Linked DNA regions of Homo sapiens: regions 2 and 3 are each linked to region 1. The links are contacts of gene promoters, found by promoter capture Hi-C in blood cells and fetal thymus (Javierre and others, 2016). All regions are on one chromosome and are shown on one strand. The core of a region is centred on a gene start or on the middle of the fragment in contact, and the rest is flanking DNA. Distances in the headings are between cores, read along the strand shown.

Region 1 (3,883 bases), core at 1,368-3,867:
ATAATTTTTGTATTTTTAGTAGAGACGGGGTTTCACCATATTGGTCAGGCTGGTCTTGAACTCCTGACCTCAGGTGATCTGCCCGCTTTGGCCTCCCAAAGTGCTGGGATTACAGGAGTGAGCCACAGCACCCGGCCATGCATTTCTATTATTTATTTATTTATTTATTTTTGAGACAGAGTCTTGCTCTGTTGTCCAGGCTGGAGTACAATGGCGTAATCTCAGCTCACTGCAACCTCTGCCTCCTGGGTTCAAGCGATTCTCCCACCCCAGCCTCCAGAGTAGCTGGGATCACAGGCCCGCACCACCACGCCCAGCTAATTTTTGTATTTTTAGTAGAGACAAAGTTTCACCATATTGGCCAGGCTTGGTCTCAAACTCCCGGCCTCAGGTGATCCACCCGCCTCGGCCTCCCAAAGTGTTGGGATTACAGGTGTGAGCCATCATTCCCAACTTATTGTGTTTTTTCTTTTTCAAAACTTATCACTGTGAGGTCATGCAAAACCTTCAAAATATTTATGTAGGCAAATATTTTTCTTTTTTCTATAATGGTTCTGGGCTTCCTGTCTTGCTTAAAATTTCTGCCTCATTGGCCAGTAATCACATCACTTTTGGGAGGCTGAGGCGGGCAGATCACGAAGTCAAGAGATGGAGACCATCCCGGCCAACACAGGGAAATCCCGTCTCTACTAAAAAACAAAAAATTAGCCGGGCATGGTGGTGCGCGCCTGCAGTCCCAGCTACTTGGGAGGCTGAGGCAGGGGAATCCCTTGAATTCAGGAGGCGGAGGTTGCAGTGAGCCGAGATTGTGCCACTGTACTACAGCCTGACGACAGAGCAAGACTCCGTCTCAAAAAAAGAAAAAAAAAATTAGGCGTGTGTGGTGGCGGGTGCCTGTAATCCCAGCTACTCTGGAGGTTGAGGCAAGAGAACTGCTTGAACCTGGGAGGTGGAGGTTGCCATGAGCTGAGATGGTGCCACTGCACTCCAGCCTGGGCAACAGAATGAGACTGTCTCAAAAAAAAATTTTTTTTTCCTCTTAAGTTTCTGTTTTGTAAATTTTTATATTTTTTAATTCTTCTGGATTTTTTTTTTTTTTCCTAGACAGGGTCTTGCTCTATTTCCCGGGCTGGAGTGCAGTGGTGCTACCGTGCTATCTCGACTCACACCAGCCTCGACTTCCCTCGACTTCCTGGGTTCATATTATCCTCCCACCTCAGTCTCCCAAGTAGCTGGGACAACAGATGCACATCACCACACTCACGTCATTTTTGTCAGTCTCGCCATATTGCCCAGGCTAGGTGTGAACTCCTGGGCTCAAGTGATCTGCCCACCTCGGCCTCCCAAAGTGTTGGTATTACAGCCTCTTCTGGAATTTATTTTTCAATGTTCTTGCTTTAAATCGAAAGTCAATTAAAACCAGGATCATTGGCCGGGCACGGTGGCTCATGTCTGTAATCCCAGCCCTTTGGGAGGCCGAGGCGGGCTGATCACCTGAGGTCGGGAGTTCGAGACCAGCCTGACCAACGTGGAGAAACCCCGTCTCTACTAAAAATACAAAATTAGCCAGGCGTGGTGGCGCATGCCTGTAATCCTCAGGAAGGCTGAGGCAGGAGAATCGCTTGACCGGGGGACGCAGAGTTGCGGTGAGCCAAGATCGCGCCATTGCACTCCAGCCTGGGCAACAGTAGCGAAACTCTCATTCAAAATAAGTAAATAAATAAAAAATAAAAAAACTAGGATCATTTCTCAAATAAACTATTGGTTTGTCACTTAATTGATTTGTCACGTTTGCTTTTTATTATGTTGTACTTCTAGATTTTATCCCTGACTACTCAACTATTTGTCCAGGGTAATATAGGAGCATTACGTTAGAATATACTAGCTTTGGAGTGAGTTAAAATGTTGGTTTTCAGTAAGTAAAATTTAAGTGTCCCACTAGAAAGAGGACTGTGATTTTTCGCGGTTGGGGTCAAAGGTAACAGGAAACAAGGTAGGCAAAAAGGGGTAAAGTTTAAGGCTCTGCAGACAAATGTTAGGTGTTGTTACTGCAAAATTGAACAAAGAACAAGAATCTTGGGCTTGAAAGCCTGGACTTTTCCCTAGAAACAACCATTCACAGTGTAGGGACTGAAGGGCCAGCTGTGAGGCAGCCGAGCTAGCGCCCTATCCTCACAAAGGGAGTGAAAGACGGAGACGGGTATCGGGAAAAAAATAAGTGCTGCGTCCAAGAATTTAGGAGTCAGTCCATGTCGCAGAACAGGGAGAAGGGCTGGGAAGAAAAGGCCAGCAAGGAACCTAGGAAGAGCGGAATCTCTCGGGAGGAGGTTATGGAGGCCGCAGCGGGTGATGGGTCTCTCCTGAAGGCGACTTGCCGGGGATTCCCTATTCCGCAGTCCTCTGGGAGTCGCAAAGAGAGTTAGGAAAGGCCGTGCAGCAGCGTCGCAGCCGGGCTGGCAACGGTAGAGGAATCGGCAGTGAGGCCTCTCCCCACACCCTGCCAGCCCAACTGCCGCCGCCGCCGCCGCCGCCACCGCGGGGCCCGGGATTGGCCCGAGGGCGGCGCAGGGCGGGGCGGGGGCTGCTGGGATGCAGGCCTGAGAGGCTGGCGCGCGCGCACACGGGCGCGGGTTCGGCGGCGGCGCGCGCGTGCTCTGTCGGCCTGTGCGGCGCTGCGGCGGAGCGGGCCATGGCAGTGGGGAGGGGGCGAGTGTAGTGCTGCGCGGGGCAGGCGGGAGGTGATCGAGAGAGGCAGGGATGGGGGCGCCGGAGTGGAGCGGTTGCGGCGGCCTGGGCTGCTGACTGCGCACTTGGAATAGTAGCAGGCGGCGGCGGCGGAACGCCAGGCAGGTGAGTGCGGCGGCCGGGACCCGGATGCGGCGCGGCTGAGGGGCGGCTGGGTCGCGGCGCCGGCTGCGGTGCCCCCGGGCGTGCTGGCGGTGCGTTCTAGCTTGCCGCTACCTGCGGCGCTGGCGACTCTTGTGGTTGCACCGCGCTTCCTGCCAGCTTGGAGGATAACCGCCTACCGGCCGGTGGGGGCGTCTGGCTTGGTTGCGGCCCGCCCTGGGCTCTCCAAGGTGAGTGGCGCCCCCCGGCCCCTGGGCGGCAGAGACGCTGCCGGGCGTCCCGGGTCACTGTCGCTTTGGGTCCCGTTCCTGAGGGGCGTTTCTGTGGAGAGACGGCGTACTCGCGCCCCGCGTCTATGCGGACACCTCCGGAACTTCCCGACCCTCAGGTGCCTTTTTGCGCAGAAGTGTATTTCAGAGGCGTGGACCCAGGGTTATTAGGTTATGGACATGTTTTCGAATCCCAACGCCGCTGCTGACCAGTCCTGGGGCCTTGGGCCAAAATATCCTGATGTGTTAAATGGAAATAATAATACATACACCATAAGGTTGTTGTGAGGTTAGGCATAACTGAACAAGTGCTAAGTAAATGATACCCCTGCTGCAGCATCTCGTGTTAGCTATTGCTAATTCCTGGCTGCTGGCGTGCGTTTGGGGGCACATTTATTTCCGATCTGCTCTGGTGTTGCAGTAACCGATACTGGAGTTGCTTAATATTGGAGCCTGTTAACCTCGCAGTGGCCAAAATAGAATCCTATAGTCCCTTACTAGAATCCTGCAGTCTCTTCCCGCAGGGCTGAATTGGAACCCTGTCTCAGGTACTGAGTGGGAATTACTGCTGAAATGAAACCGAGCAAATTCGGGATTCGCTTAGGATGAAAGATGGTGGGACGTAAACTTGAAGTGCTTTGCTGTTTCATCTCAAGTGACACTTGAACTCTGCCACTTGTTACAGAGTTATAAACACACGAAGAGTATGGAAACAGACTCTTTTTTCTGCATTGCTACATCCAAAGGGAGTGACAAGTGCTTTTGTA
Region 2 (4,087 bases), core at 48-2,547, 64 kb before region 1:
CTGCACTGTGGCAGTAGCTGTGGCAGATAGTATTTCCCAAAAATTATCCAGAAAAACAATATTTCAATTTCCACACGCTGTTTCAGAACCCTGCCACTCCCTCAAGTGGCAGACTCTGTGTTCCCTTCAGTTGAATTCCCATGGGTCTTTTGGTCTTCTCAACTAATAAAATACAACAGAACTCCCAAGGCTAGGTCAGAAAAGACATTACAGCTTCCACCTGACTTTTGTTTTGTTTTTTTTGAGACAGAGTCTCACTCTGTTGTCCAGGTTGGATGACATGCCATGCCATGCAGTGGCATGATCTCAGCTCACTGCAACCTCTGCTTCCTGGGCTGAAGCAATTCTCATGCCTCAGCCTCCCAAGCAGTTGGGATTACAGGCACACGTCACCATGCTCAGCTAATTTTTGTATTTTTTTTTTGTAGAGACGGGGTTTCACCATGTTGCCCAGGCTGCTCTCGAACACCTGAGCTGAAGCTTCCCAAAGTGTAGGGATTACAAGCGTGAGCCACCGTGCCCAGCCTCTACCCAACTCTTTTAGGACACATTCCCAGGAGCCTAGCTACGTGGAGAATAGCTAAAGCCCCAGCCTTCAACCCTTGCTTAACTCATAGAGGACTGCCATGTGAGTGAGCCAACTCAGAGGCAAATTCTCAGTTAGCTGATTTGCCCCAGCTGATGGTGCATGGAGCAAAATGAGCCTTCCCCATGAAGCCCTGCCCAAAATACAGATATATGAGCAAAATAAATGATTGTTGTTTTGAAGCCACTGAGTTTTGGAGTGTTTCACTATGGAGCAATAGTAACTGAACTCAGGCCTAAATACCAAGGAGTCAGCCATGAGGAAATCTTCATAGAGCATTTTAAGCATAGCCAACAACAAATCCCATGGCTTGAAGACAGGAACAAGCTTGGCACACTGAGGAACAGAGACGGTCAGGTAGCTGAGGGGGAGAGCCCTAAGAAGCGTGGTTGGAGAGGAAGGCTGAGCCACATTAAAGCCTCTTGGGCCATGAAGAAGTCTGAAATGATCAAAAGTTCAGTAGGAGTTCATTCTCCTCATAGCCGCAAGAGCCAACAAGGGTTGTGAGCAAGGCAATGATGGGATTTATTGTCTTAAAAGATGGCTCCAGAAGCTATGGGGAGAATGATACGTAGCAGTATGAAAGTGGAAGCAGATGCTGGGCACGGTGGCTCATGCGTGTAATCCCAGCACTTTGGGAGGCCGAGGAGGGTGAAGAGCTTGAGCCCAGGAATTCAAGACCAGCCTGGGCAACATGGCAAAACCTTGTCTCTACAAAAAATACAAAAATTAGCTGGGCATTGTGGTGTGCACCTGTAGTCCCAACTCCTCAGGAGGCTGAGGTGGGAGGATCACTTGAGCTGGGGAGGCAGAAGTTGCAGTGAGCTGAGATCATGCCACTGCACTCCAGCCTGGGTAATAGAGCAAGACTGAATCAAAAGGAAAAAAAAAAAAAGGAAAGAAAGGAAGAAAGAAAGAAAAGAAGGAAGGAAGGAGGGAGGGAGGGAAGGAAGAAAGGATGAAAGAAAGAAAGAAAGAACCAACAGTGGAAGCAAGGAGATCAGTTAGCAATTGTCCAAGATGAACACAGTTGACACCCAATAGTGAGGAGAAGAAGATAGACTCCAGGCACATTTTGTAGAGGCAATAAGCTTTGCTGATAAGATGAGAGGTGAGGGACAAGGAAGAATAAAAGCAAACCTCTAGGTTTTTGTCTCAAGCAGACATGTGAATGACAGTGCTGTTGGCTAGATGAGAAAGGCTTGGAGAGGAACAGGGTTGGGGTGGGATAAACCTTCCCCTTCCCTCAGGATATCTGATTTCAATGTGGTTGTAGAAAGAATCCAAGCTGGCTAAATAATTCTCACTAAGCAGTTACCAGGAGGCAAGTACAGAGCTTCCGACTCTGGTAGGGGTGGAGATTCTGATAACTACTTGGCTTGCCTTAGGAATTCCTTTCTATTTATGTGTTTGCCTATATAGCTTTTAGAGTCTCTATGCAGAGTGTGGTTGTTATAATTACTATGGCAAAAATCCCAGCTGGAAGCTAAAACACACCCAAAGGAGGAAATTGAACTCAACATGTAGGAGACCCAGCCAAGTGCTTTTCCCAAACCATACTGCTTTAGCCAGTCTGGAGAAGAGCTCCTGAGTGACCAAGAGGAAGGAACCAGGCCTTAGGTACCTACTGAAAAAATGGCTAATAAGAGACAGGGGAACAAACTACAAACTCCTGGAAGGACTCCCAAAGCAGGCAGAAGACCTAGGCTCTAGAGAGCAGCTTCTGCATCTCCCCTATAGGGAGAGGGAGAAGGATGGACCCTAGAGTGGCACAAGAGTAGAAAGGATCCCAGGCCAGGCCACACCTACAACCCTTCCTTAGTTTCCCTCTCTCGCCCCAGTTTGAAGAACTTCGCTGCTCCACTGAATTCCCTCCCTCTAGAGGACGCAGCTCCAAAGCTCAGAAGGAAACTGCTCTCTTCACTTGGTCCTAAGGGAGGGTCATTCACCTGTGCTGGCTTCTTTTTTTTTTTTTAGACAGAGTCTCACTCTGTCACCAGGCTGGAGTACAGTGGTGCGATCTCGGCTCACTGCAACCTCCGCCTCCCGGATTCAAGCGATTCTCCTGCCTCAGCCTCCTGAGTAGCTGAGATTTCAGGCACGTACCACCACACCTGGCTAATTTTTGTATTTTTAGTAGAGATGGGGTTTCACCATGTTGGTCAGGCGGGTCTCGAACTCCCAACCTCAGGTGATCCACCCATCTTGGCCTCCCAAAGTGCTGGGATTACAGGCATGAGCCACCGCACCCAGCCAGCTCTGGCTGGCTTCTTGAAGATCACCATATAGGACCCTGGGTTGAATTGGTCAGCAGAGGGAAACAGGGTATCCAGTCAAGCTCTACAGGAGCAAAGGATGGGCAGTCAGAGCGGCAGGGACAGGGCACTTGGTGGCCTGGTGTGCCTTTGCTGAGTCCCACTCAGAGTCCTCAGAGCCACAGTTCTGCTGATTTCTCTCTCCTGTCTGTTTCATGATCGAGTTAACTTCCCTTCACATTGCCTCCTCTGTGGGCACACAGTATTTCCTGCCCAAATATTATGTCTTTCCGCTCTCTCCCAAAATATGGTGAGGGGTCTCTAGTTTAACCATGAGACACAAAAGAGCCAATGATAACCCATACCTGGGTGGCATTTCATTTATTCATTCTTCAGTTATTTATTGAGCTCCTACCACATGTGATAGTTAAGCAGGCTATTGCAGTAATCCAAATGAGAGGTGATGGAGACTTAAGACTGGTATGGTAGTAGAGGAGGTTATGAGAAGTGATTGGATTCTGAATACAGTTTGAAACATAAAACCAACAGGATTTTCTAATAGGTTGGACATGAGATATGAGAGAAGCAAGAAGAGAAGGCTGCTTCCAAGGTGTTCGTCTAAGCATCTGGAAGGATAGTGTGTTGCCATTTTCTGAGATAGGAAAGACTGCAAGACAAGCAACTAGAAAGAACTAATTCAGCAGACTGACTGTTTGGGCATCATAAATTTGAAGTGCTTGTTTATTTGTGTGTGTGTGTGTGTGTGTGTGTGTGTGTGTGTGTGTGAGACGGAGTCTCACTCTGTTGCCCAAGTTGGAGTGCAGTGGCGCGATCTTGGCTCACTGCAACCTCCACCTCCCAGGTTAAAGTGACTCTCCTGCCTCAGCCTCCCGAGTAGCTGGGATTACAGGCATCTGCCACCATGCCCAGCTAATTTTTGTATTTTTTGTAGAGATGAGGTTTCACCATGTTGGCCAGCCTGGTCTCAAACTCCTGACCTCAAGTGATCGGCCCACCTCAGCCTTCCAAAGTGCTGGGATTACAGGCGTGAGCCACCACGCCCGGCCTTTTATTTATTTTTTTGAGATGGAGTTTTGCTCTTGTTGCCCGGGCTGGAGTGCAATGGCACAGTCTCTTCTCACTGCAACCTCTGCCTCCCAGATTCAAACGATTCTTCTGCCTCCGCCTCCCGAGTAGGTGGAATTACAGGCATGCACCACCACATCCGGCTAATTTTGTATTTTTA
Region 3 (4,186 bases), core at 876-3,375, 96 kb before region 1:
CCAGGCAGGGTGGTAGCCAGACTCCCTGAAGGGCTATGCTGCAACAGGAGCTGAGGTGATGGCAAGAACCAACTTTTCCTGCTGCTCTGGTCAGGTCTCTCCTCTGCTCCATTTGAGAGAGGAGCTCCAGCGACAGCTATAATTTCTGAGTGTCAATTCAATCTTCCTGTGTGAGAAAGCTGATTGGTATCCTGGGTCAGGTACTGTCCTGGAGATACACCCCAGTCCTGTCAACTGGAGCTGAGGAAGAGGGTCTGCTGGTAGCTTCTGATGGTCGCTCCTTGTGGGAAGAGGGCAGTCATGGCACTCATGAGAGGCTAAGCAGACACCCCAGGAAGTCATTTGTTTCAGTCTAGCCTGTCCAACCACTCAATCAATAGCTCAAGGATTTTTGATCCTAGCTGCACTACAAAATTGCCTCAGGGGCTTTAAAAACCTATTGTGCCTTGGCTGGGCGCGGTGGCTCACGCCTGTAATCCCAGCACTTTGGGAGGCCGAGGCAGGTGGATCACGAGGTCAGGAGATCGAGACCATCGTGGCTAACACCATGAAACCCCATCTCTACTAAAAATACAAAAAATTAGCCGAGTGTGGTGGTGGGCGCCTGTAGTCCCAGCTACTTGGGAGGCTGAGGCAGGAGAATGGCATGAACCCGGGAGGCAGAGCTTGCAGTGAGCCGAGATCGCGCCACTGCACTCCAGCCTAGGCAACAGAGGGAGACTCCATCTCGAAAAAAAAAAAAAAAAAAAATATTGTGTCTTACCTCCATGTCTTGGGTGTAGCCAGGGTATTGAGATTATTTTTTTAAGCAATGCTGGTGATTCCAATGTACAGCTAAGGTTAAGAACCACAGCCAGGAGCAGTGGCTCATGCCTGTAATCACAGCACTTTGGGAGGCTGAGGCAGGCAGATCACCTGAGGTCAGGAGTTTGAGACCAGCCTAGCCAACATGGTGAAACCCTGTCTCTACTAAATATACAAACATTAGCCGGGCATGGTGGCACATGTCTGTAGTCCCAGATACTCAGAAGGCTGAGACAGGAGAATTGCTTGAACTCGGGGGGCAGAGGTTGTAGTGAGCCGAGATCACACCACTGCACTCCAGCCTGGGCAACAGAGTGAGACTCTGTCCCCCACAAAAAAAGAACCATGGCAATAACTAAATAGGGAACCTACAGCCAATTTAGCCATTTGCTAAAGATATAGCTTCAAAATATCCAATGAAGAGAAAAATTATTAAAATCTAATGGTTTGCACATGGCTTATTTTCATCTAAATTGTACATACCCTAGTCCAAATTTCAAATGCCATGATTATTCACATTTGACATTTTCTAAACTTCTTGACATAAATGTTATGTTAAGTTCCTTTTGTAAAAAACTTGCCTTTCTGGAAATCCTGAGGCACCAGAACATAGGATGGCTCCGCATGGCCTCAGCTGACCCTCAGGCCCCTATAGACCACCAGCCCCTTCTTTTCCAGGGTCTCCAGCTTGCCAGGGTAGTCTCAAAGCCCCCCCAAAAAAACCCGAATTACACTGATCTTGCTTGCCCCTGCCCACAGGCCTGTGCTTCAGGGTTCCCACCCAGGAGCTTCTGACACATTTTCTGGAGGCCAAAGAGGATAAACTCTACCCCTTCAGTCAAGCTGGCAAACACTGATGAAAACTTTGTCCTAGTCCAGGTGTAGTGGCTCATGCCTATAATCCCAGCATTTTGGGAGACTGAGGCAGACAGATCATCTGAGGTCAGGAGTTCAATACCAGCCTGGTCAACATGGTGAAACCTAGTCTCTACTAAAAATGAAAAAAAAAAAAATGGCCAGGCATGGTGGTGCATGCCTGTAGTCCCAGCTACTTGGGAGGCTGAAGCAGGAGAATGGCTTGAGCCTAAGAGGTGGAGGTTGCAGTGAGCCGAGATGGCACCACTGCACTCCAGCCTGGGTGACAGAGCAAGACTCCTCAAAAAAAACAAACAAAACTTTGTCCTAGTGCATGGCAGCCTTGAAGAATATCTTTATTTTGCTTTGTTTCCCTTCCTTATAGTTTTCCCTAAGCAATTAGTCAATCAACAAATAGTTCATAAATAGCTATGATGTGCAAAGCACAAGGTAAAAAAAGAAGGATCACTTCAGAGATCTTGTCACTGGGAGAAATGCAACAGCAACCCCTCTAGGCTTGGCCTTGCATGGATACTAAGGTGCCTATTAAAGGGATCTTTCCTCAGCTGTCTATTCTTTTTAGCTTAACCCAGGGCTAGGACTCAAGCAATTATAGAGGGTGAGGGATGGCAGCAAATAGAAGGGAGCTGTCCTGCCTGGCTGGGTGCAAGAATGAGGGTGGGGTATGAGGGATGCTGCTCTTCCCATGGCTGAATCACCCTGAGAGCTGTTTCCTGCTTCCAGAACCAGAGAGCACAGGCAGCACAAGACAAGACCAAACTGCCTTTTCAAAAGCGGAGAAAGGTGATCAACACAAAGACCAGTGACTGATGGAGGATGTCCAGAGAGTGGGGCTGGGGACAGATACCATGACATTTGAAACTATAGAGAGGGCTTGGAGATCCCAAATGAAGTCTAGGGCTGTGATTTTCAAAGTGTGGAACCCAAATCATCAGCAGCACCTAGGACCTTGTTAGAAATGCAAACTCTCAACCCCACCTCAGCCCCACTGAATCAGCAACTCTAGGGTGGAGCCAGCAGTCTGTCTTACGAAGGCCTCCAGGTGATCCGGATGCAAACTCAAGTTTGAAAACAAATGGTTTACTCTAGGGAAGCCCTCATCCCACACATCCTGCACCTAAAACACATGGCTGGGTGCGGTGGCTCATGCCTGTTATCCCAGCATTTTGAGCGGCAGAAACGGGAGGATAACTTGAGGCCAGGAGTTTGAGACCAGCCTGGGCAACATAACGAGACCACCCCCTCCCCGCCCCCCACCATCTCTACAAAGAATTTAAAAATTAGGCACTGGCCGGGCTTGGTAGCTCATGCCTATAATCCCAACTACTTGGGAGGATCCATGGAGCCCAGTAGTATGAGGCTGCGGAGCTATGATTGTGCCGCTGCACTCCAGCCTGGGCAGCAGCAAGACCTTGTCTCTAAAAAACAAACAAACAAAAAAAGAAACACTTTCAGGCTTTTAGATCCCTGAATGGTTTCCAAGAAGCCAGGCAGGAATTCTGATGTTACCCCAACAAGAATTGTTGCCACTGTCCCCCCAGCCACCAGTCTCCCCTTCCTACTCCCTACTCCCTACCCCTCACCCCCAAACTCCTCTTGCCAGGAATGACTGCTGGCCCAGGCCAGTGACAGAGAGCCAGGAACCTTCTCTAGAGGCTAGGCAACTTGAGCAGAAGCATCCCCCAGAGAGGCTGCCTGGAGTCCTGAAGCTGTTACCAGTTTTTTCTCACAGGCCTTTGGCAGCTGCCCATTTACCTGCCCAGGGTGCTGGGAAATTCCAGTCCCTGAGTTTTGGGGTGGGACTTGGTTGGTTCACTATAGGACAGGAGTGACCAATCAAAAACAGGCTCCAAAGGGGATGAAAGAAGCTAGGCACATGCATCACTTGTTGACTTCGTAGGTGGGGGGTGGGAGGGCTGTATTAGATAGTTTACCCACTGCAGACCTCTCTGGGACTTAGCCATCTGAATGCCAGGATAGTGGTAGTGGGAGACTCAAGGCCAAGTTGCTTCCATCTCCATATTTACTAGCTGGTTCTCAGAGAGTTTTCCCTGGACCGATAGCACCAGCATTCCCTGAAAAAATGCAAATTCTCAACCTCCACTCCACCTGCAAAATCAAAAACTCTGGAGGTGGGGCCCAGGAATTCGCCCTGTAACAAGCTCTCCACGAGATGCGGAGGCTCCCTCACTCAAGTTTGAGGACCACTGACCTTGGGGTGCCCCAACAAACAAAGGATCCAGGCCCCCGCGGGCCGTTGGCCAGGAACTCCGACTTCCCCGCCCCAGTCGCCCGGAGCCCCTCAGTGCCGTGTCTCCGTGTCCCCGCCAAAGATCGCAGGATAGGCAGGCCCGGGGCCGTCGGCGGCAGCCTCGCAGGGAGGAATGGTGGGTGGCCTTGAGATTCCTCTCTGGCTTATTTTGTTCCATTCCGGGAGTAATAATTTGTTTCGTATTGGAATCAAAGGGCCTTTCGTGGCTCTTCCGTTCTATCTCGTCAGCTCTCA

The links. The method cuts DNA at HindIII sites, captures the fragments that hold promoters and counts their contacts. A CHiCAGO score of 5 or more calls a contact.
Region 2: a contact is called between a fragment that was not itself captured here and the fragment with the promoter of PIK3CB in region 1, in 4 of 17 cell types (neutrophils, endothelial precursors, monocytes and 1 more). The highest score is 7.8, in neutrophils.
Region 3: a fragment that was not itself captured here is called in contact with the fragment with the promoter of PIK3CB in region 1 in 1 of 17 cell types (neutrophils); the score reaches 5.3 in neutrophils.

The regions. Positions count from the first base shown.
Region 1 is chr3:138,833,662-138,837,544 of GRCh38, reverse strand. PIK3CB (phosphatidylinositol-4,5-bisphosphate 3-kinase catalytic subunit beta) reads left to right here and starts at 2,617. Exons shown (of 24, transcript NM_006219.3): 1 at 2,617-2,850. RefSeq lists a silencer at 2,381-3,120. The HindIII fragment of the contact is 25,969 bases long and covers 1-3,883 here.
Region 2 is chr3:138,896,436-138,900,522 of GRCh38, reverse strand. LOC124906289 (a long non-coding RNA gene) reads left to right here. Exons shown (of 2, transcript XR_007096114.1): 2 at 429-768. Among named protein-coding and RNA genes, the nearest start is that of LINC01391, 46 kb to the left of the region's middle. The HindIII fragment of the contact is 764 bases long and covers 916-1,679 here.
Region 3 is chr3:138,928,995-138,933,180 of GRCh38, reverse strand. No RefSeq gene overlaps it. Among named protein-coding and RNA genes, the nearest start is that of LINC01391, 13 kb to the left of the region's middle. The HindIII fragment of the contact is 6,746 bases long and covers 1-4,186 here.